6 separate regions of the Homo sapiens genome follow, and regions 2, 3, 4, 5 and 6 are each linked to region 1. Evidence: promoter capture Hi-C in 16 types of primary human blood cells and fetal thymus (Javierre and others, 2016). All regions are on one chromosome and are shown on one strand. The core of a region is centred on a gene start or on the middle of the fragment in contact, and the rest is flanking DNA. Distances in the headings are between cores, read along the strand shown. Region 1 holds the start of CCDC73 (coiled-coil domain containing 73). Region 2 has its middle 66 kb from the start of WT1-AS. Region 3 has its middle 120 kb from the start of WT1-AS. Region 4 has its middle 100 kb from the start of WT1-AS. Region 5 has its middle 130 kb from the start of WT1-AS. Region 6 overlaps WT1 (WT1 transcription factor).

What was found. The method cuts DNA at HindIII sites, captures the fragments that hold promoters and counts their contacts. A CHiCAGO score of 5 or more calls a contact.
Region 2: a fragment that was not itself captured here is called in contact with the fragment with the promoter of CCDC73 in region 1 in 2 of 17 cell types (fetal thymus and megakaryocytes); the score reaches 7.1 in fetal thymus.
Region 3: a fragment that was not itself captured here is called in contact with the fragment with the promoter of CCDC73 in region 1 in 16 of 17 cell types (total CD4 T cells, naive CD8 T cells, naive CD4 T cells and 13 more); the score reaches 28.1 in total CD4 T cells.
Region 4: a contact is called between a fragment that was not itself captured here and the fragment with the promoter of CCDC73 in region 1, in 15 of 17 cell types (fetal thymus, naive CD4 T cells, total CD4 T cells and 12 more). The highest score is 14.2, in fetal thymus.
Region 5: a contact is called between a fragment that was not itself captured here and the fragment with the promoter of CCDC73 in region 1, in 4 of 17 cell types (total CD4 T cells, naive CD4 T cells, fetal thymus and 1 more). The highest score is 6.1, in total CD4 T cells.
Region 6: a fragment that was not itself captured here is called in contact with the fragment with the promoter of CCDC73 in region 1 in 2 of 17 cell types (M2 macrophages and fetal thymus); the score reaches 5.5 in M2 macrophages.

The regions. Positions count from the first base shown.
Region 1 is chr11:32,792,350-32,796,052 of GRCh38, forward strand. CCDC73 (coiled-coil domain containing 73) reads right to left here and starts at 2,313. Exons shown (of 18, transcript NM_001008391.4): 1 at 2,264-2,313. RefSeq lists silencers at 629-678, 689-808. The HindIII fragment of the contact is 7,830 bases long and covers 1-2,419 here.
Region 2 is chr11:32,368,121-32,371,662 of GRCh38, forward strand. No RefSeq gene overlaps it. Among named protein-coding and RNA genes, the nearest start is that of WT1-AS, 66 kb to the right of the region's middle. The HindIII fragment of the contact is 8,271 bases long and covers 1-3,542 here.
Region 3 is chr11:32,315,786-32,319,636 of GRCh38, forward strand. No RefSeq gene overlaps it. Among named protein-coding and RNA genes, the nearest start is that of WT1-AS, 120 kb to the right of the region's middle. The HindIII fragment of the contact is 5,878 bases long and covers 1-3,851 here.
Region 4 is chr11:32,333,113-32,336,921 of GRCh38, forward strand. No RefSeq gene overlaps it. Among named protein-coding and RNA genes, the nearest start is that of WT1-AS, 100 kb to the right of the region's middle. The HindIII fragment of the contact is 2,512 bases long and covers 270-2,781 here.
Region 5 is chr11:32,300,374-32,303,988 of GRCh38, forward strand. No RefSeq gene overlaps it. Among named protein-coding and RNA genes, the nearest start is that of WT1-AS, 130 kb to the right of the region's middle. The HindIII fragment of the contact is 5,608 bases long and covers 1-3,615 here.
Region 6 is chr11:32,393,009-32,395,992 of GRCh38, forward strand. All of the region lies in intron 7 of WT1 (WT1 transcription factor), which reads right to left. Among named protein-coding and RNA genes, the nearest start is that of WT1-AS, 41 kb to the right of the region's middle. The HindIII fragment of the contact is 9,656 bases long and covers 1-2,984 here.

The DNA of each region.
Region 1 (3,703 bases), core at 1,063-3,562:
TCATGTGTAAGTATTTACTCATATGGTAAAGCTAAGCATTGACTAATGTCGGCTGTAATCAGAGAAGTTTAAGAATGCTGTGAGTTCAAAAAAAGTTAGGTTAAACAAGTTCCTTCACTGCAGGACATTTTAGAGTCCTTAAATGAATTCCAAGAGTATTTTTGGCCACAGAAACCTTTTTTTATTGAAGCATCTCACAGGACTAGTGCTCCCTGGAACACAATTTAGGAAATACTGTCTTTTGGAAACGGTGTACCTCCAACTGTCTTGAGGTACACTATATAAATAACAGTGCCCAATTTTCACCTCCTTCAGAAAACTCAGTCAGATTTCTCATCTTAACTATAGCATCCTTCACAATTTGATCAAACTTGCAATAACTTTAATTTGGTTAGCATGAAGTAGTGGTTAAGCATCTGGGTTTCAATTCTAGCTCCACCACTTGTCGGCTGTGTAATCAGCCTTGCATTGTTATTTAATCTCTTTCCCATGGTTTTCCCATGAAGTGTAAGGAGAATACTGGGAATACCTACGGTACAGGGTTTGGGGTTTGTTTTTTTAGGATTAAATGAGATAACTTCCAGCCCCTGGCGTGTAATAAGCATTCCACATATGATATCTATTACTATTAGAATAACACTATCACCGCACCTGTACAGTTATTACGGGATACACGGCCAGAGCGAAAGAAACTAAAAACCCTATGCTGCCGCCTGGTGGACACTCGGAATTTAAAAATCTGTCATTCGCTTCCTTCCTGACACTACGATATGAAGCCGTATGGAAATTAAAACGTTTTCTCAAGCTGCATTAACACACTTTATAAATCATCAAAGTGGGGAATCTAATTTTCCAAAACTTAACAACTACCCCCAAGGCAACCCTGAAACCAGGGAGAGTTGTAAAGACTCAAATTGGCCGAAGAAATGGCTGAGAGAAGACACCAGTGAAGGACTACAGAGGAAACTCCATCCACAGCGTATTTGCTGATTCTCAGGTTGGGATATTTCAGTATAGATTTTTTCTTCAAGGTATAAAACAAAGAGAGCCATAGGAATTTATCACAACTAAAGCAAAATAACCAATAATCATCAATTCGAGGATCTCAATATAAGCAGAAGACTCCGTGGAATCTTCACATTTTCTTTCTAAAAGAAGTGCACTGATCATAAAGGTTCCCATAAATGACTTAAGGGTTGTCACTTATTTTCAGCAGCAAAGTGAAGTGGAAGATTGCAGCAATGACATGAATAATTTATTTTATTTTATTTTATTTTTTTAGACAGAGTCTCGCTCTGTTGCCCAGGCTGGAGTGCAGTGGAGTGATCTAGGCTCACTGCAACCTCCGCCTCCCGGGTTCAAGCAATTCTCCTGCCTCAGCCTCCTGAGTAGCTGGGACTACAGGTGCCCGCCACCACGCCCGGCTAATTTTTGTATTTTTAGTAGAGACGGGGTTTCACCATGTTGACCAGGCTGGTCTCAAACTCCTGACCTCAGGTGATCCGCCCGCCTCGGCCTCCCAAAGTGCTGGGACTACAGATGTGAGCCACCGCCCCGACCAAATAATTTATATCTAGAATTCAGCATTATCAGGATTAGCAGGGCAGTCATTTCATTCCCAGTGAGATTCCATTTAAATTTGCTCGTGCAAGGCAGTTTGGGAGAAACAAAATCACCAGCAGAATGAAGAAAAAATAGAGAAATGTCCCTGGGAATTTACACACTTCTGCAACTGCGCTAGAACTTTCGCACTATACTTAAAACATTCTGCAAAAAGTAACGTTCACCAAAGAAAAAGTCGAGATTCACCAATAACAGTTCCAAATGTTGCTAACTCTGAGCGGTCAGAGTTGTTTGAAAATTTTCAGAAGAACAATCGACATGATTGCATTGCATTCATAAGGCAAATATGAGGTTTAAAACAAAAACCACCACCACGCAAGGCACATGTACAGAAGGCGCTTCTCCACGATGAACAGACGAGACCCTCATGACTCACCCGCAGTCTCAATCCTGCCCAAGCAGAGATCCAGATGGATGCCTCAGTGTGGCTGCTTCTCCTGGGTCGGGAGCGTGGAAGATTCTAGACACAGCCCAGCAGTCAGGAGGCTCCAGGCCAAAGCAGCCCCTTGGCAACCAGAGCAAGGAAGGGTAGGTTACGCAGCTGGAGGTGCAGGGCAAACCCGTAAGTGGACCCTGCATGAAAAGATTAGGGCTGCTTCCTAAACAGCCCAACTACACGCTTGTGACTGCTCCGACTTACCTCAGCGAAGCGCGCCTCTAGCTCCTGTTGGCCCTTCCGGTTCACCTTTTCCCGCCCTAGGGCACTTCCGGCTTGAAGGTCATTAGCCTAAGATACGTGGGTAATCTTGAGCATCTGGGGCAAAATATGATTGATTTTATTTTCTTTTTAAATACAAGCTTCGGAAAAGATACCTGGATATTTGATGTTTTTCCTTAAGTACAACATGTATTGGCTTATATATTCTTTTTTGTTTTTGTTTGTTTTCGGTTTGTTTTTGGTTTTTTTTTTGAGACGGAGTCTCGCTCTGTCGCCCAGGCTGGAGTGGAGTGGCGCGATCTCGGCTCACTGCAAGCTCCACCTCCCAGGTTTATGCCATTCTCCTGCCTCAGCCTCCCGATATATTCGTTTTTTAAAAAAAAAGTCTTTGGAAAGATGAAAGAAAAATGAGTAAGTATTACCTGTGGGGAGCAATGGGAAGTGTGTGGATGGGAACGGGAGAGAGAGGGAGACTTCACTGAATAGCTTTTTATACTTTTTGATGTTTGCTTCATGTGAATGTGTTACTAATTCAAAAAATAAATGTTAGCCGGGTGTGAGGGTTCACTGGCTCATGCCTGTAACCCCAACAATTTGGGAGGCTGAGGTGGGAGGATTGCTTCAGGTCAGGAGTTCGATACCAGCCTAGGCAACATGGTGAGACCCCCGTCTCTACCCAAAAATACAAAAATCAGCCGGGCATGGTGGCGTGCGGCTGTAATCCCAGCTACTTGGGAGGCTGAGGCAAGAGGATAGATTGAGCCTGGGAGGTCAAGGCTGCAGTGACCCAAGACTGCACCACTGCACTCCAGCCTAGGCAATGGAGCAAAACCCTGTCAAAAAAAAAAAGAAAAGAAAAGTTGCTTAATTTTTAAAGTGAAATAGAAAAAAAACTGCAGTTCTAATTATACTGATAATCACACCTATTTTAAGCACCTAACTAATGCTATGTTTCAGTATGTTATGTTGAATAGTCATTCAATAAGAATGTAATATGTTTCAGGCCTACATTGTTTTTGCATGCTACCAAAATGTAAAAGAAGTGGTTCCTGCCCTCAAATTTTTTTTTTTTTTTTGAGAAAAAGTCTCATTCTTGTCCCCCAGGCTGGAGTGCAATGGCACGATCTCAGCTCACTGCAACCTCCGCCTCCCGGGTTCAAGCGATTCTCCTGCCTCAGCCTCCCGAGTAGCTGGGATTACAGGCGCCTGCCACCACACCTGGCTAATTTTTGTATTTTTAGTAGAGACGGGGTTTCACCATGTTGGCCAGGCTGGTCTTGAACTCCTGACCTCAGGTGATCTGCCCGCCTTGGCCTCCCAAAGTACTGGGATTACAGGCATGAGCCACCGCAGCCGGCCCCCCGCCCTCAAATTTTTAACCACGTTTTCCAGTAAAAATCTGTCTGGAATTCTTTTTACTCC
Region 2 (3,542 bases), core at 281-2,780, 430 kb before region 1:
CAGGAAAGACCCGCCCTCATGATTCAATTATCTCCCACTTAGTCCTTCCCATGACACATGGGAATTGTGGGAGCTATGATGCAAGATGGGATTTGGGTGGGGACACAGCCAAACCATATCATTCTGCCCATGGCCCCTTCCAAATCTCATATCTTCACATTTCAAAACCAATCATGCCTTCCTGATGGTCCCCCAAAGTCTTAACTCATTTCAGCATTAACTGAAAAGTCCACAGTCCAAAGTCTCAACTGAGACAAGGCAAATCCCTTCTGCCTACGAGCCTGAAAAAATCAAAAGTAAGTTAGTTACTTCCTAGATAAAATGGGGGTACAGGCATTGGATAAATATACCCATTCCAAGTAGAAAAAATTGGCCAAAATGAAGGGGCTAAAGGCCCCATGCAAGTCTGAAATCTAGTGGGGAGGTCAAATCTTAAAGCTCCAAAAAAAAAAAAAAAAGATCTCCTTTTACTCCATGTCTCATATCCAGGTCACGCTGATGCAAGAGGTGGGTTCCCATGGTCTTGGGCAGCTCTGCCCCTGTGCCTTTGCAAGGTACAGCCTCCCTCCTGGCTGCTTTCACAGGCTGGTGTTGAGTATCTATGGCTTTTCCAGGTGCGTGGTGCAAGCTGTTGGTGGATCTACCATTCTCAGGTCTGGAGAACGGTGACCCTCTTCTCACAGCTCCATTAGGCAGCACCCCAGTGGGGACTCTGTGTGGGGTTGCCCACCCCACATTTCCCTTCTGCACTGCCCTAGCAGAGGTTCTCTATGAGGGCCCCACCCCTGCAGCAAACTTCTGCCTGGATATCCAGGCATTTCCATACATCCTCTGAAATCTAGGCAGAGGTTCCCAAACCTCACCTCTTGGCTTCTGTGCACCTCCAGGCTCAACACCACGTGGAAGCTGCCAAGACTTGGGGCTTGCACCCTCTGAAGCCACAGCCTGAGCTGTACCTTGGCCCCTTTTAGTAATGGCTGGAGCAGCTGGGACACAGGGCACCAAGTCCCTAGACTGCACACAGCAGTGTGACCCTGGGCCCAGCCCACAAAACCATTATTCCTTCCTAGGCCTCCAGGCCTGTGATAAGAGGGGCTGCTGCAAAGTTCTCTGACACACCCTGGAGACATTTTCCCCCATTATCTTGGTGATTAACATTCAGCTCCTCCTTACTTATGCAGATTTCTGCAGCCGGCTTAAATTTCTCCTCAGAAAATAGGATTTTCTTTTCTGTTTTCTCTATCAGGCTGCAAATTTTCTAAACCTTTATGGTGTTTCCCTTTTAAAATTGAATGTTTTTAACACTTCTTGAATGCTTTGCTGCTTAGAAATTTGTTCTGCTAGATACCCTAAATCATCTCTCTCAAGTTCAAAGCTCCACAAATCTCCAGGGCAGGGGCAAAACGCCACCAGTCTCTTTGCTAAAGCATAACAAGAGTCACCTTTTCTCCAGTTCCCAACAAGTTCCTCATTTCCATCTGAGACTACTTCAGCCTGGATTACATTGTCCACATCATTATCAGCATTTTGGTCAAAGCCATTCAGCAAGTCTCCAGGGAGTTCCAAACTTTCCCACATTTTCCTATCTTCTTCTGAGCCCTCCAAACTGTTCCAACCTCTGCCTGTTACCCAGTTCCAAAGTCACTTCCACATTTTCAGGTATCTTTTCAGCAGCGCCCCATTCTACTGGTACCAATTTACCATATTAGTCAGTTTTTATGCTGCTGATAAGGACATACCCAAGACTGTGTAATTTAAAAAGAAAAAGAGGTTTAATGGACTCACAGTTCCATGTGGCTGGGGAGGCCTCACAATCATGGTGGAAGGCAAAAGGCACATCGTACACAGCAGCAGACAAGAGAGAATAATAGAACTTGTGCAGGGAAACTCCCCTTTATAAAACTATCAGATCTCATGAGACTTATTCACTATCATGAGAACAGCATAGGAAAGACCTGCCCCCATGATTCAATTACCTCCCACTGGGCCCCTCCCATGACACATGGGAATTGTAGGAGCTACAGTTCAAGATGAGTTTTGGGTGGGGACACAGCAAAACCATATCAATCACCATATTTATGAGTTTAGTTTACTAGAATTTAAAGTGTTGTTTAGGTTCCCAGGAAAGTTTTGTTTGTTGACTCAGACTGGTATAAGGAAGGAAGGAAGGAAGGAAGGAAGGAAGGAAGGAAGGAAGGAAGGAAGGAAGGAAGGAAGGAAAGAAGGAAAGAAAGAAAGAAGGAAAGAAAGAAAGAAGGAAACAAAGAGAGCAGTAAGGACAAGAGACATCCTTGTCTGCTTCTGTTTTGAAGGAGAATTGCTTTGGTTCTTCTAATATTGGCTTTTGCATTTAATTTTTTAAATCTTTTTTTTTTGAGATAGGTTCTCACTCTCTTGCCCAGGCTGGAGTGCAGTGGTGTAATCATAGCTCACTGCAGGCTCAAACTCCTGGGCTCAAGGGATCCTCCCACCTCAGCCTCCCGGTAGCTGGGACTACAGGCATGTGCCCCCATTCCCAACTAACTTTTTAATTTTTGTAGAGATAGGGTCTCACTATGTTTCCTAGGTTGATCTCCAACTTCTGACCTCAAGCCATCCTCCTGCCTTGGCCTCCCAAAGTGCTGGAATTACAAGCATAAGCCACCTTGCTTGGCCTAATTTCTAAAACTTTATATTATGGAAATTTTTAACATGCACAAAGATAAGACAGAAAAGTACACTATTAAACCCCCATGTGGTCACTACTCAGCCTTCACAATTTTTTAACATTTCTCCATTCCTGTTTTATTCATTCTTGTTTTATAACCCCACTCCAAACATTCTTTTCTCCTCCTCCTTCTCCTTTTTTTGCTTTGAGGTCGTGGTCATGAGGCAGACTGGAAGGTTTTTTTTTTTAACTGAGGTAAAAATCAATGAAATGTACAGATTTTAAGTGTACAGTTTGATGACTTTCATTAAATGTATATGCCCAAGTACTCAACAATCCAATCGAGATAAAGAACATTTCATTACCCTAGAAAATTTCCCTGTGCCCTCTTCCAGGAAAACATCACCCTCCACACACAACCACTTTTCTGATTTATATCATCATAGAAATGGTGCCTTTTCTTGAGCTTCATATATTAGGAATGACGTGGTATCTTCCCCTTTGTCTGACTTCTTTCATTCAAACTTTTTTGGGATTCATCCATGTTGTTGCATATATCAGTTGTTCATTTTTCAAATTGCTGGATAGTATTGCATTGTATGAATGTGCCACACTTTATTCACTTATACCTTCTCCCATTGATAGACATTTGGGTTGTTTGCAATTTTTAGCTATTCTGAATACAAGTAATATAAACATTCTTATACAATTCTTTTTTCTCATTCTTGTACAATTCTTATTTTGGATATTTGTTTTCATTTTTGTGGGGGTAGATAACAAAGAATATAGAATTGCTTGGCCATGGGGTAGATGTATACTTAGCTTTATATGGAACTGCCAAACAGTTTTTCCAAAATGGCTTTGCTATTTCACACTCTCCTCAGCAGTGTATGAG
Region 3 (3,851 bases), core at 1,106-3,605, 480 kb before region 1:
CTGTGTGACCTTGGAAAAGTTATTTAATGTCTCTCAGCCTCAATTTCCACATCTGTAACCTGAAGAACATAAGACTACCATTAGAACTGATGTAAATTGTGAAGATAAAACTAAGTATTTGCATAACTACATAGTTATAATAGGCAACGCCCATATACATATATATTATATATTTTTATATTATATGTATTATATAATATGATTATATAATAATTATAATTATAATCTTTATGAAAGCAGATATATTGTGCAACTTGCTAATTGCTTTAGTAGTGGAAAGATACTCCTGAGGAAAGAGCATTGGAGAACTCTCAGAGCTTTTCATCAGAGTGGAATAAGCCTTGAAATCCATTCACTCCTGGCTCTGACATTTACTCCTACATGATCCCAGTCAAATCAATGGGACTACAGAAAAAACTACCTCAGTGGGGAGGTTGTGAAGGTCAAATGAGAAAATACATGTAAAAAATGACTTAAAAAATCAAAAGTGCAATTATAATGATCCTTCTCCTACCTCATACACAAAAATAGCCCCCAATGAAAGGACATAACGTGGGGTGTTTCATTAAGTGACACAGCCTGGCGAAGAACTGAAATAAACATTTTTTAAGCTAATATTTGTCACTCCTCATAGTGAAACTGAAATCTGAGTCTAATGACTAATGACCAAATTATGTCAGAGCCCCCAAATTGCACACCATTTCCATCTCCATGGCCTCCAATAGGCTTTAGCGCCAAACCTAGTCTAACCCTGGGGAATTATGTTTGTATTTTGTTGTAGGCCAAGTTATCCATTGGATTTGCCAAGATGGAAGAAGCCCTGGCAGCTCCATGTGCAATGATAAGTGATCACAGGATCGTTTCTGGGGGCTGAGAAGCTCTCCCCATAGCAGGGATATCAGCAGGTTAGGTCACCCCATGACAGGGAAGGCGGAGGAGTGTATTACCTGGGTTTCCAGAATTGGATAAACAAACCATCAGCGCTCAGACCCCACAGGTAACGCAGAGCAAAGAGGGTCTTCAGAAAGAAACCTCAGATGAACTAGGTTTATTTAAAAATTCCTCCCCAGGCCATCCTTATAATAATTATAATCTTTTTTATTGGTTGGTGGTTATATTATAACCACCAAGGGGTGGTTTCTGTAAAAGCCAGATTAGGTCATCCTGGTCTGCCTTTTAGAAGTTTCCACAACAGATGGAGAAACACAGCTTTAGAGGAAAGTATGGCTCACATCCGTCTGCATTCATTACAGGCCCAGTTCTCCAAAATGCTATATGTTATCTTGAGCCTGTTTGTTTTTATCTGTCAGAGTGGTTTATTGTTAGGGAAATAGGGTGTCAGCTGTCTCTTCCCCACCATCAAAGCCGCTTCATTAAAGTTAATAGTGTTTGACTTGCAGAGATCTCTTACCATGGTAACCCTAGAAAGCCCCTGCTGGCTGTTATTTTTCCGGCAGTAAAGGCACCAAATGGATGCAATAACTGCATTAATCTTTTAGGAAAAAGAGAAAAAAAAAAAACATTGTGTGACTCTACCTAGTAGGTGCTCAATAAATGCACCTTGAATTCATGAGGCTAACTCTACCCTCCTGTGTGGGACGGGATGCAGAACCAAATGACCTGGGTCCTGACCCTGCCACTCAAGGTTCTGTGGTCTGTGGCTTGTCACTTCCCCAGGCTAAACCTCAGTTTATTTATCTCAGAAATAAAGGGGATGGATTATGAGGAAGCCTTTTTTGTCCAAGAGTCATCTCACAAGGAAGCCTGATATATAAAAGCAGGTAAAAACAAATTTACTTCTGGATAAAGGGAGGGAGACCAGAAGTCCTATGTCCTCTGCATTCTACCTTCCTCCACAAGCCACCACCTAAACCTCATTCTTTTCCTTCCCCCAGGAAGTCCTGAGCAACCTCTGTGGGCTGCCTTGCCCACCCTAGACTTCCTGGAATAGCATCTGAAATCTACTAGTCTGAAGGAATTCTCACTAAGGTCTTTTCTGCTCAGACTATGGCTTCAGTGCTTAAGTAGGCTGGAGTCAAACCACATGAAGGCAGTTTCTAATCAGCATAATCACTTTATGGAAGAGTTTCTGCTTAGTGCCTTACAGGCATGAAACAGGGTTTTGCTTTGTTTTCTATGTTTTGATCTTCTCATCACTGCTTTTAGCTATGTGCTGTCAAATCTCCCTTCCCTCCTTGAGTAGGGGATCTCGGGCAAGTTCCATCACTTCTTGGTCACTGTCACTTACTGCTAGTTAGTTCAGTTTTTGTCAATCATGACTCAGTTTAAGTCTCATCCCCTCTCTCCCTGGCAGGGCACTGGAGCTGGAAGTGTGACTCTTTGGGGTACATCTTCACCGCATGGGTCACCCCCTTGAGTGGGAGAACCAGCAGGAGACTCAAACCTGAGAGCTCTGCACCAGCATGCTCCTGACCGTGACACACTCAGGCATCCTTACCACATCAACCAGTGCTGTGGAGGCTGCCCCAGGGCTGGCCCTCTCTGCACCTTGCCATCTGTCTCCAGTTCTCTTCTCTGCACCAGGAGGCCAAGGGACAGATCTACAAGCCCTCCGACCAAGCACATGTCCAACAGGGAAACCTAAAGCCAGTTTTCCTTTCTTGCAAGTAAGAAGAAATATCTTCCCTCATTTAATCTGTTGCAGGAATTCCCCTGCCCATTGTCATTCCCTCCCTTTGGAAAGAGAAGAAAACCATGAACACTATTCCCCTGAAAGGGTGCAACCAAGAGAACTCTCTCCCTCTTTGCCTCCCACCAGCACCTTTGCAAAAGGCCTTCAGGGTAAAAGGCGGCTGAGTCAACAGCTGGAGGTAGGAGGCCTGAGTGGGCTGCCCTATAGTAGACTGGCAGGTAGGGGAGTGAAGAAGGGAAGGGGAGGAGGCCACAACTGTCATTGACTTTCTTTAAAATGTTGCATTTGCAGCTGAGGCTCTAGTTGCCAAATCCAATACCATAGGAAAAATCCCACCAAACAGCCTGTACACATGTAATACTAGGATGTCTATCAGAATATGTTCATGTTTATGCATGTGGCTCAGACTTGGATGGGTACCAGTACAGGCACCTGTGTAAAACTCTGAAGAATCCCAAACCACATGTTTAGTTTTATTTTTTGGCCCAAGCCTCTGAGGGAGAAAATAAAACTAAAGCAAAGAGAACCAGTCACTCATTCATTCATGCACACTGTCCACGAGCCTTTCCTTATACAGGCAGGTGCTAAGCACTTGGGTGAGGCAATAGAGAATAAAGCATGGTCTCTGGCCATTATTATTCAGAACCACAGAAATAACTCCACTGGTATAACAAGAAACTTTCATATCCCATAGCTCATTAGGGTCCTAACAACAACCTCATAAGATGGCCAAGGTACATATAATCACCGTTTTAAATCTGAGAAACAGAAACACGTCAAGGGTAAGTGACTTGCGTAGTCCCACAGCTAGATAAGTGCAGGGCAATGATTAAAACTTAAATCATCTGTTGGTCCCAGACTGTTTCTGTTTGGCCAAACCATAACAAAATGAATCTGCGACTTCCTTGTATCTGCCATTACAATGGCTCTACATCCCACACTTTCAAGGATTCATTCAATTTCTAATATTGTGTTCCCTTGTCTTCCAGATTTTCCTTGTCAGATCACTTGTACTAATTTTGAAAATACAGTCACTCCGCCCAGTGCGGTGGCTAACATTTGTAATCCCAGCACTTTGGGAGGCCGAGGTGGGCAGATCACTTGAGGTCAGGAGTTTGAGACCAGCCTGGCTAACATGGTGAAACCCTATCTCTACTAAAAATACAAAAAGTAGCTGGGCATGGTGGCGGATGCCCGT
Region 4 (3,809 bases), core at 276-2,775, 460 kb before region 1:
TTTTTAACTGCGGTTTACATCCCATTTCTAACATCACTACAACCTACATCCTCTCCAGGCTACAATTGAAGTTGAAAAGTGCACGAGGTCTTTACAAAGCCTCGTACAGTGAATGCGTCTGCGCACGTACAGTCCTCGTGCACCCTTTTTCTCTCTCTGGACAGAATTTCTTGGGGATCCTTCGCCCCCCACCCCCACCCCCGGCCGTATTTCTCCCTAGGCTCTTATTAAAACCAGGTGCACGGAAGGCGGCCCATTCTGGACAGAAAAGCTTTCGTTTGACCCAAAGCTCCCCCTTCCGGCGTGTTTTCTAGAGGGAATTCGTGAGCTGAGCCGAGGAGCGAGCAGGCGGCTTCTCCTGACCGGGGAGACGCGGGAGGTTTGCAAACAGACCTTGGCCTGGGCTGCGCAGGGACAAAGTGTTCAAGGGCAGCAGGGGAGGCTGAGGGAGTACACGGCTGGGAACAAGGGACACTGCCGCCCCCAGCCACGCAGGAGCGGTGTCTGCACCACTGAAAGTCCCCCGGGGCCCACAGCTCTATCCAGGCGGAAGGGAAGCAGCCAGGCCGCCGCGGATCTGAACTTGAATCCCGGGTGGACCGGACGCCCCGGCCGGCGCTCCTGACGCGCGGAGGAGCTGGCGAGAACCTGCAGATCTCAGGGCTCGCCCGCGGTCCGGCGCTCGGTTCAGGACGTCCGGGAACCCCGCAGCGCTTACCCTCTGCAGCAGGCGTCGCTGGCGCCTCCAAGGGCAGGGGCGGGTCCGGCGGGTACAAGTCGCGATTGACGCGACGGCCCAGGCAGGCACTGTGGGCTTCACCGCCCGCAACTTTTGACCCTAGAGGCCCTGCGCTGCAGCCTGTGGCCCGGAGGGACAGAAGTGGGAGCGTGTTTGGGCCACTCTGCAGCGAAAACGACCTTCCCTCATGGAACTTTCAGTAACTAACTCCTGAGAGCTGCGAGAGCTTCACACCGCCAGGCCCCAACCCGACTCTCTAGGCTGAGGGCATTGACTACCTGTTAGGGTCAAACATTCGAGTATTTGCGTCTTAATTTGACTCTAGAGTTATTCAAAGTAGAGCGACAGGCCTCAGAGGGAGGAGGGGCGTTGTTAGAACACAAAAAGGACACAGAGAGGAACAGGGACCTCAAAAAATGGGCTTCCAAATTGTAAGTGGCCATTTCCTATTCCTGAGGCCTGTTTTTCAAGCCGGCCTGTTTGTTCAGTTTCCCTGATTACCGCTTTTCAAAGCCCATTACCAAGCTCTATACAGCCTTCCAGCGTGACAGCCCTTGCTTTCTGAAGGGATTGCTGAATTTTAAGTACTCCTAGCAAAGAGACAGCTGCCCGAACAACGTTAGAAAACCTTACCATCCCAAACGTTTGCTTGACACTGGCTCCATAAAAGCCGCTTGGAAGTCGGTCAGCCAAGGGTTGTGCCCTGTTTGATGTTAAAAACTCTTCTCAGCCTTAAGCCTAAAATCCTGTGACAGGTAACAAGGGAATTCCAGATAAGTTTCCAGATTCAAGCAACTCTGGTGATTTCTGACAAAACAGTCAAAACAGTCTAAGTTTCTCAAATTGTGATCCATGGACCACTGACATCAGATTCCTTTTTCTCGGCCCCTCTGCCAGCGGGGGCACCCCCTCTACTCGGCCGGCCTGCCAGGCTCAACCCCTTGCAGGAGGGAGCACGTGAACAAGTGAGGGCAGAACCCAGCTAGCTGCTCCAGGCACAAAACAGGAGCAAGTTCTGTGCGGGGTCCTGGCCCGGAAGCCCCAGAGAGGGTGTTACAGTGCTCCTTCAGTTCCTCCATTGGCGGTTATATGGAGGGCGGTGCGTTAGCAGCTCAGCCTCTTGCCTCATGGTGGCTTGGGGCAGCTGCCCTCTACTGGCAAGGGCCAGTGTGACAGCCTTTTCTGGGTACCCACACGTGGTGAGTCCCAAGCTCTTGTCCAGGTCCAAGAAGAATGAGGTCACATGGACTGTTGAAGGATGGTGAAGGTGGAGAATTTTACTGAGCCATGAAAATGGCTTTCAGCAAAGAGGAGATGCAGGGTTGGTCCTCCTACCCAAAGGCGGGAAAGTTCCCCCGTGTGGCTGGGTCTGGGGCCTTTATGGACTCAAAATGGGGAGTGTGTGCTGATTGGTGTGTGAGTAGGCTAAAAAGGTTAAAGCAAAGACACCACTCAAAGGTGGGTATGACAGTGTAGAAAACCAATTAGGAAAGGGTAGGTACTTGTAAAATAAGTGAAGGGTGGGGACCAATCAGGGGAAAGCACACCAAACAGGAAGACAAGTTCTCAATCAGCTGGGAGGATTTAACTTGTAGCTTGGCTTTTCAGCTTTAAATTGTCTTCAGTTTGGAGGCGGGGTTTCACCGGGTACCCACCCCTATCTATCTAGGTGTTTGGCTGCTTCCTATCACTATCAGAATGAGCTGCGCAGGGTGGCTCAGGCATGTAATCCCAGAATTTTGGGATGCTAAAGCAGGAGGATTGCTTGAAGCCAGGAGTTTGAGACCAGCCTCGGCAGCACAGTGAGACCCTGTCTCTACAGAAAAATTAAAAAATTAGCTGGGCATGGTGGTACATGCCTGTGGTCCTAGCTACTTGGGTAGCTGAGGTTGGAGGATCGATTGAGCCCAGGAGGTCGAGGCTGCAGTGAGCCATGATCATGCCACTGCATTCCAGCCTGGGCAACAGAGCAAGACCCCCTAAGAAAAAAAAAAAAAAAAAAAAGCAATGAAGTCCAGAAACCAGAAACCTGCTTTGTAACAAGCTTGCCTTATGAGGTTTCTGCTCACTAGTTTAAGAATTACTAGACTCTGTCTTTTATCTGACTTTGCTGAAATGGTACTTGTTTTCTGGAGCCCTCACTCAAAAATCTCAGCAGTGTAAAACACTCTTTTTATCAAAAAAAAAAAAGCACACTTAAGTTTTGCTTCCAAATGAATGTGACTTATTTCAGAGGAGTCATGAGTACTTTTAATGAAATTCTGCCTAAAGCAATACTTCCCACTGTATAGAGCTCTAAGCACATCCTAGTGCTAAGTAGGTAGATTATGCCATGTGCTTTCTACTAATCTTGGGCTGTTTGTCATTCTAAGCCAGACACCCCTTGCCCTGCCCATTTTTCTTCTACTGCTTCACTCTGGCCTCTATCGGCACAGCATTCCTTAGGTAAATGGCAACTGAGTCTACGACCACGGTGGCTTCCAAACTGAACTGTACAACAGCAGAAATGTGTGGAGCTTTTAAAACTGGTTTCCAGACCCGTGAAGAATTGTAGCATTCCCAAACATACATATTTGCAGAGACTTCATCTCACAAAGCATGGGATTAAAAGCCACCAAAAGTAGTACTGTCAAAAGTAGCACTGAATTGAATTTGAGGAAATAACAGCATAAACAGAGTTTTTGCAACAAAAATGTTCAACACACTGTTGCTTATAATATAAAGAGTTTGGAAAGAACCAAAATTTGTCCCACAGTAGAAAGTTAGTTAAATAAATCATGATACATACATATGAAGGGATACAAGACAACTATGTACAATTATCTTTCAGAGAATATTTATTGACATGAAAAGATGTTCTTTGTGAGTAAATTGAAAACTGTGACATGAACAATTGTTTCCTTTTTTTTTTTTTTTTTTTTTTTTTTTTTGAGACTGAGTCTCACTCAGTCGCCCAGGCTGGAGTGCAGTGGCGTGATCTCAGCTCTGCCTCCTGGGTTCATGCCATTCTCCTGCCTCAGCCTCCCGAGTAGCTGGGACTACAGGTGCCCGCCACTATGCCCGGCTAATT
Region 5 (3,615 bases), core at 62-2,561, 490 kb before region 1:
CCTGTCACTGAACAAAAATTCCTGATGCCACTTAGACACTGAATATGGCCTTGGAGTGAAGGTTGGAGGTGACCTACATTCCCTCATATCCTGAACCTAAAAAATCTTTGACATGCTGCTGGCAGAGGCATATGGTTTTTTTTTTTTACATTTTAATTTTTAAATATTGATCATATTAGATTCATTAGATGACACAAAGACAAATGCATGTCATAACATCATCTCTGATGATTGACCCAAAATTTTAGGGTGGATTTTTAAAAGGCAATTCTTAAAGCATTTACTGCCCAGGTCAGAGTCTTTGCAGGTATGAATAGTAGAGAGGCCCAACCCTGGACTCATCTCAAATGGGGAGTAGGAAAGCTCAAAAATATCTGCTACATAATTCTACCAATTGGTTTCACTGGATCTAAAAAGTTCTCTTTTAAAAAGTGATGATTACATAGGAGAGGATTCTAAAAAGAGGCAGTCCACAGTGTAACACTGGTTTTCCCTAGATGGTAAGACTGTGGGTGATTTGGGTTTTGGACTTTTTTATTTGTCTGTTATTTTCTAGTCTATCTACAATGAACAATTAAGAGTTTATTTTAATCTTAAAAAGGCCTTCCCTGGTCAAATTAAGTAAATTCATTATGTTTGGTGGTAACCACTTAAAAATGGAAGAAAGCAAACCACAATGAGATATCACTCCATATTCATTAGGATGTTTATCATTTGAAAAAACAAAAAAAATGGTAAATAAGTAGTGTTGACAAGGACATGGAGAAATTGGAACCCTCCTACACTGCTGACGGGAATGCAAAATGGTGTAGCCACTTCAGAAAACAGTCTGGGAGCTCCTCTAAATGTTAGACATAAAGTTGCCATATGACCCACAACAATTCTACTCCTAGGTATATACCCAAGAGAAATAAAAATGTAGCCACACAAAAGTTCTTAACCAAATGTTCACAGCAGCATTATTCATAGTAGCCAGAAAGTAGAAACAACCCAAATGTCTATCAGTGGATAAATGGATAAATAAAATGTGGGATATCCACACAATGGAATATTATTTCACCATAAAAGGAATCTGTACTGACACGTGCTACAATGTGGATAAACTCTGGCAACATTATACTAAGTGAAAGAAGCAGTCAAAAAAGACCACACATTGTATGATTTCATTTATATGAAACATCTAGTTTATATGAAATGTCTAGAACAGGCAAATCTACAAGGAGAGAAAGCAGATCAGTGGTTGCCTAGGGCCAGGGGAATGGAGGGGCAAGGGAATGATAGCTGAGAGTACCGGGTTTCTCTGCAGGGTGATGAAAATATTCTAAAATTGACTGTGGAGATGGTTGCAGGTATTTGTGAATATACTAAAAACCAGTGGGTTGTACATTTTAGTGGGTGAATATTATGGTATGTGAATCATATCTCAATAAAGCTGTTACCCCCAAAATAGAAGGATGCCATCTGAATATGATGGGACTTCTGACTTATATGAAGAAGGCACATACTGACACATGCTACAGTGTGGATAAACCCTGGCAACTCTCTCAACATGTGAGAAGGCAGAACCCATGTGAGAAGAGGATGGCAAAGTGAGACTGCAGGGCACCAAGACAGGGTTTGATTTGCACCCAAACAGTCATCCTGTACAAACTGGAAAAGCCATCCCCAGACCTTAGCACAGGCCTGGGCTTCCTCTCATACACACATCCCAGCATTTTACAGTTAAATAATTGATCCCCCAGATTATTCCCATGGGGGAATAATCTGCAGACACTGGGAAAATATTGGAATGAGGAAGGCAGAGCCAGCGATCAGAAACTGACCGCATCAAAATCACAGAACTCAAGCTAACTTAGCAGTGATCTCTCAAAGTTGGCTGTTCATCAGACTCACCCAGGGAGTTCTCTTGACTATCTGTTTGGGTTTTAACATAGACTGCTGAACCCCACAACGCAGACATTCTGAGTCCGTAGGTCCAAGAGATACCCAGGAATCCTATACTTTCTAAAGTTCTCCACATCTTTCTGACCATAAACCAGGTGTAGGAACTTCTGGACCAGATGACAACTCATTTTAAAATATTTTTGAAGAAAATAAGAATAAAAGACCTTTTTGAATTAAAAAAAAACTTTCCACTTTCATGCAAGGAGAATACACAGAAACTGCTTAATAACATGTTTTTATGATCTCTGGTATAGCTACAAAACAAACTTTTAAAAGGATAAAAATATTCACGTCTCCACAATGTACCAATTCACAGTTTCAGTCAGGTGTTCCTTTCAATTTTTTTAAATTGTTCCTAAACTACTGCTTAAATATCATAGAATTTAAAAGCTGAAAGAGTCTTGGATATTACTGACTTCAGCTCCCTCATCATAGACAAGGGGAAATGTCACCCACGGAGATGAAATATCTTGCTGCAGGATTAGAACCCAGTTAGGTGTGCCCACAGTCCGTCCAGTCCCCTTTCTGCTGTGTAATATGACATTTTGCAAGAATAGCTTATGCTGGAGGTCTTCAGTTGCAGAAAAATCAATCTCTGCAGATATGAAGGAATGGCATTTAAGCTATGACTTAAACCATGGAATTTTAGACCCGTTGTAACAAGAAGGAACATGCAGGTCACCAGATTAGAATCTACAATGTACAGGTTACCTAGCCCCATAAACCACAGTGAACCAACAAAAAACAAAGCTGGAAGATACAGACTTGAGTAGGAGCCTTCTGAGAAAGATGCAAGGCCCAACCCTTACATCCACGGTTGATGATGCAGAAGGTTGTTAGGGGACATCACCATAGCTGTGTGCTGCCTTTGCAAAGATTTAATCACGCTCACTTTCCAAGCTATATTAACTTGCACACAACCTTCCCAACACTGCAAGAAGCTCAAATAAAACAGAATACTGGGTTTTGGATTTTCAAGTTTTGTCTCAGGCAAACAGTATTGTACTGCAAAAGATTAAAGTTTGTGTGGCAGGCTAGGCACTGTGGCTCCCAGCACTTTGGGAGGCTGAGGCAGGTGGATCACTTGAGCCCAGGAGTTCAAGACCAGCCTGGCCAACATGGTGAAACCCCGTCTCTATTAAAAAAAAAAAAAAAAAAAAAAAAGGCCGGGCACAGTGGTTCACGCCTGTAATCCCAGCACTTTGGGAGGCCGAGGCGGGTGGATCACGAGGTCAGGAGATTGAGACCATCCTGGCTAACACAGTGAAACCCCGTCTCTACTAAAAATACAAAAAATTAGCCGGGCGCGGTGGCGGGCGCCTGTAGTCCCAGCTATTCGGGAAGCTGAGGCAGCAGAATGGTGTGAACCCGGGAGACAGAGCTTGCAGTGAGCCGAGATTGCGCCACTGCACTCCAACCTGGGTGACAAAGCGAGACTCTGTCTCAAAAAAAAAAAAAAAAATTAGCTGGGCATGTTAGCACATGCCTGTAATCCCAGCTACTCAGGAAGCTGATGAAGGAGAATTGCTTGAACCCAGGAGGCAGAGGTTGCAGTGAGCTGAGATCACGCCACTGCACTCTGGCCTGGGCAACAGAGTGAGACTCTGTCTCCATAAATAAATAAATAAATAAATAAATAAAGTTTGTGCACCAGTTCTATCTCCTATTCAC
Region 6 (2,984 bases), core at 394-2,893, 400 kb before region 1:
CTTTATTGTAAAATGGGTCCAATAATCCAACAACTTTAAAGGATTTATGACCTTCACATAAAGGGCTCAGCCCAGAGCCTGGCATAGAAGGCGTGCTCAAAAACTATTAGCAAATAAAAAACAAAATCTTTAACTCCCAGGCAGAATCTGAGGCAGAATTCTGGGATGCATGTGCCTTGAGGTCAACCTCATGAAATAAGAGTTTTATGTTTTAGGGCCCAAAGATCTGGTGTTCTTTGCTACTGACTCCTTGTTCTTGCATCAAGCAAATATGACTCCATGGTTGTGAGACCCTCAAAACACACCAAAAGCACTGAGAAAGTTTTTGGTGTGCTTTATCCAAGAGAAGTCAGTAGTGGGATTACCCAACCTCCTGTCTCAGAATGGAGAAGCCTCACCCCTGTCCTCACTAGAGAAAGTTCAGCCAAATACTGGGACCTGAGCCCCAAGAGAAGTGAGCAACCCCAGGCCTTCCCACCTTCTTAGGAGAATCCTGAGTCACAGGCATCTGGGATGGAAACAAGCCATTCTAGAATCAGTCAGGTCTTTCTGTTGCAAAGGCAGCCCCCTGTTACCTTTCCAATCTCAAAGCCTGGGCTATTTCCCTCATGAATCTCTATTCCCCACTATGCCAGAGCTCACATCCTGAAGTCCTCCTTGCACTCTGCTCACACTAAATGTCCCCCATCCCTATCTCCACATCGAAAAGTCTCCTGGGTGTCTCCTTCTTCTGCAATGCCTGCTTGGAAACTGCATGGGCCAATTTCCCTTCCTTCCCTCATTACGACATTTATTCCAGGCTGTCTAATGTGGTGAGCTGTGTCTGGGTCTACAATTCTACAATTCTTCAATGGGTTGGAAAATCCTAAGGGCTGGAGCCTTTTTATTTTTATTTTTTCTCAGAGACAGAGTCTCTCTCTGTTGCCCAGACTAAAGCGCAGTGGTGTGAGCCTAGCTCACTGCAGCCTCGAAACCGTGGGCACAAGCAATCCTCCTACCTCAGCCTCCTGAGTAGCTGGGACTACAGGCATACACCAGCACACTTGGCTAAATTTTTAAAAATATTTTTTTTAGAGACAGGGTCTCACTATATTGCCCAGGCTGGTCTTGAACCCCTTAAGCAATCCTCCCGCCTACGCCTCCCAACATACTGGGATTACAGGTGTGAGCCACTGCACCTGGCCCCTTTCTTTGTATTTGTATCCAGGTTGGTGCCTTATGTTTCACCTCTGTGAGCTGGAGAAGATGTTACCCCTATTGAGTCTGATTTCCTTCCCCTGCCTTTGAGCTTCTGCTCATCTATCACTTTCTCTGCCCAAACTACCAGCCTCCACTGGCTAACCCAAGCTGTTCTTCCTCTGAGAAACTTTCTCGGATGACCTTAGTTCAAACTGATACCCTCCAAACCCCTCGGTACCTCCTGTCTCTGATTTAGTACATGATCATGTACTCTCTCAGTCACTTTTCATTTCTTTATATCCTAGCTCCCAAACAAACCAGGAACTCTTTGAGAAGGAGGATTATAACCTGCAGTTAAAAAGAAGGAGTTTGAGTCCTCTTTCTGCTATATCCTATACTCTTCATAAATGTTTTGTGAGTGAGGATTAAATGAAATATACATGTAGAGAGCCTGACACCCAAAAAGTACTTAATATAACAGTCTGTACTGTTGTTATAAATAAATAAGAAAATATTGCTCTCTTTCAAGGGGGACTGTAGGATTGTTAAATACCAACCTGCCCTCATCTTCTGCAAGGAAGAGTTTCTTAAAGGCTCCAGTGGGTCTGGGGTTTTGGCTGTCTTGTTCACTGCCTTCCCTTCACACAGTTGTCTAACCCTCACTGCATTCTAAGTGCTTCTCTCTCACTAAAAGTTTCTACAACCATATTGCCTTCATTTATTCCCTTGCATTTTTCAGGCAGGACTTTACTTTCTCGTTTTCCTTATAACCTTGACAGTCACTTTTCAAATGATCCCATTTGGGGAAATGTGTAAAAACATAACATGCCACTGGTCCCCTCCTTTTTAGCCTCAAAGTCTGTGGCCCACTGAGTGCAAACTCAGATTGACACCAGAATTGCATCCTCTGGACACAGTGAATTAGCAAATTTCAATGGTCCAAGGAAATCTGAATGCAGCTCACTTTTTTCTCCAGCTTCCCAAGAGCAAAATCAGCAGTAATAACACAGTTGCAACAGTGATCCTATAATAATGCTGTTCTTCGATTGTGGAAAAGGCAGCAGTAGCTCCTCTGTAGGAAAACCTGGGTTTTACCACACTCCCACACTCCCACCTAGTGCCCACAAGGCCCAGAGTAAACGTTCTGTGACATGGCTGTCCACATTCAAGGTGGCCAACACCAAACAATGCCAGTTCTCTGTTTCCCAGAAGCAGCCTCTCTGACCTGGGGGAAAATCCAGTTTCATTGGCGTATCTTCAAAGATAAAAAATCATCATCTCTCTCTCTCCTTTTTTTTTTTTTTGGCAGAGTCTTGCTCTGTCGCCCAGGCTGGAGTACAGTGGTAAGATCTCAGCTCACTGCAACCTCTGCCTCCTAGGTTCAAGCAATTCTCCTGCCCCAGCCTCCCAAGTACAGGTGCGTGCCACCACACCCGGCTCATTTTTGTATTTTTAGTAGAGACGGGGTTTCACCTTGTTGGCCAGGCTGGTCTCCAACTCCTGACCTTGGGTGATCCACCCACTTCGGCCTCCCAAAGTGCTGGGATTACAGGCGTGAGCCCCCATGACTGACCTTTTTTTTTTAAGTGATCACTAAAAAATCAAACTAACAATCAATTTTCCCCTTCCTGTCTAGTTGATTATTACTGACCCAAGCAGGTAAGTTTTTCTTTGGACCATCTCTTCTAAAATTTCACAATGATCTTGCCCATCGACCTCCTAAAACCATCTGATGACTATATTCCCAGGCCAGCTCCTCTCTCCTTAGAAATGCTAATAGTATTCTAACACCAACACGATTCCTA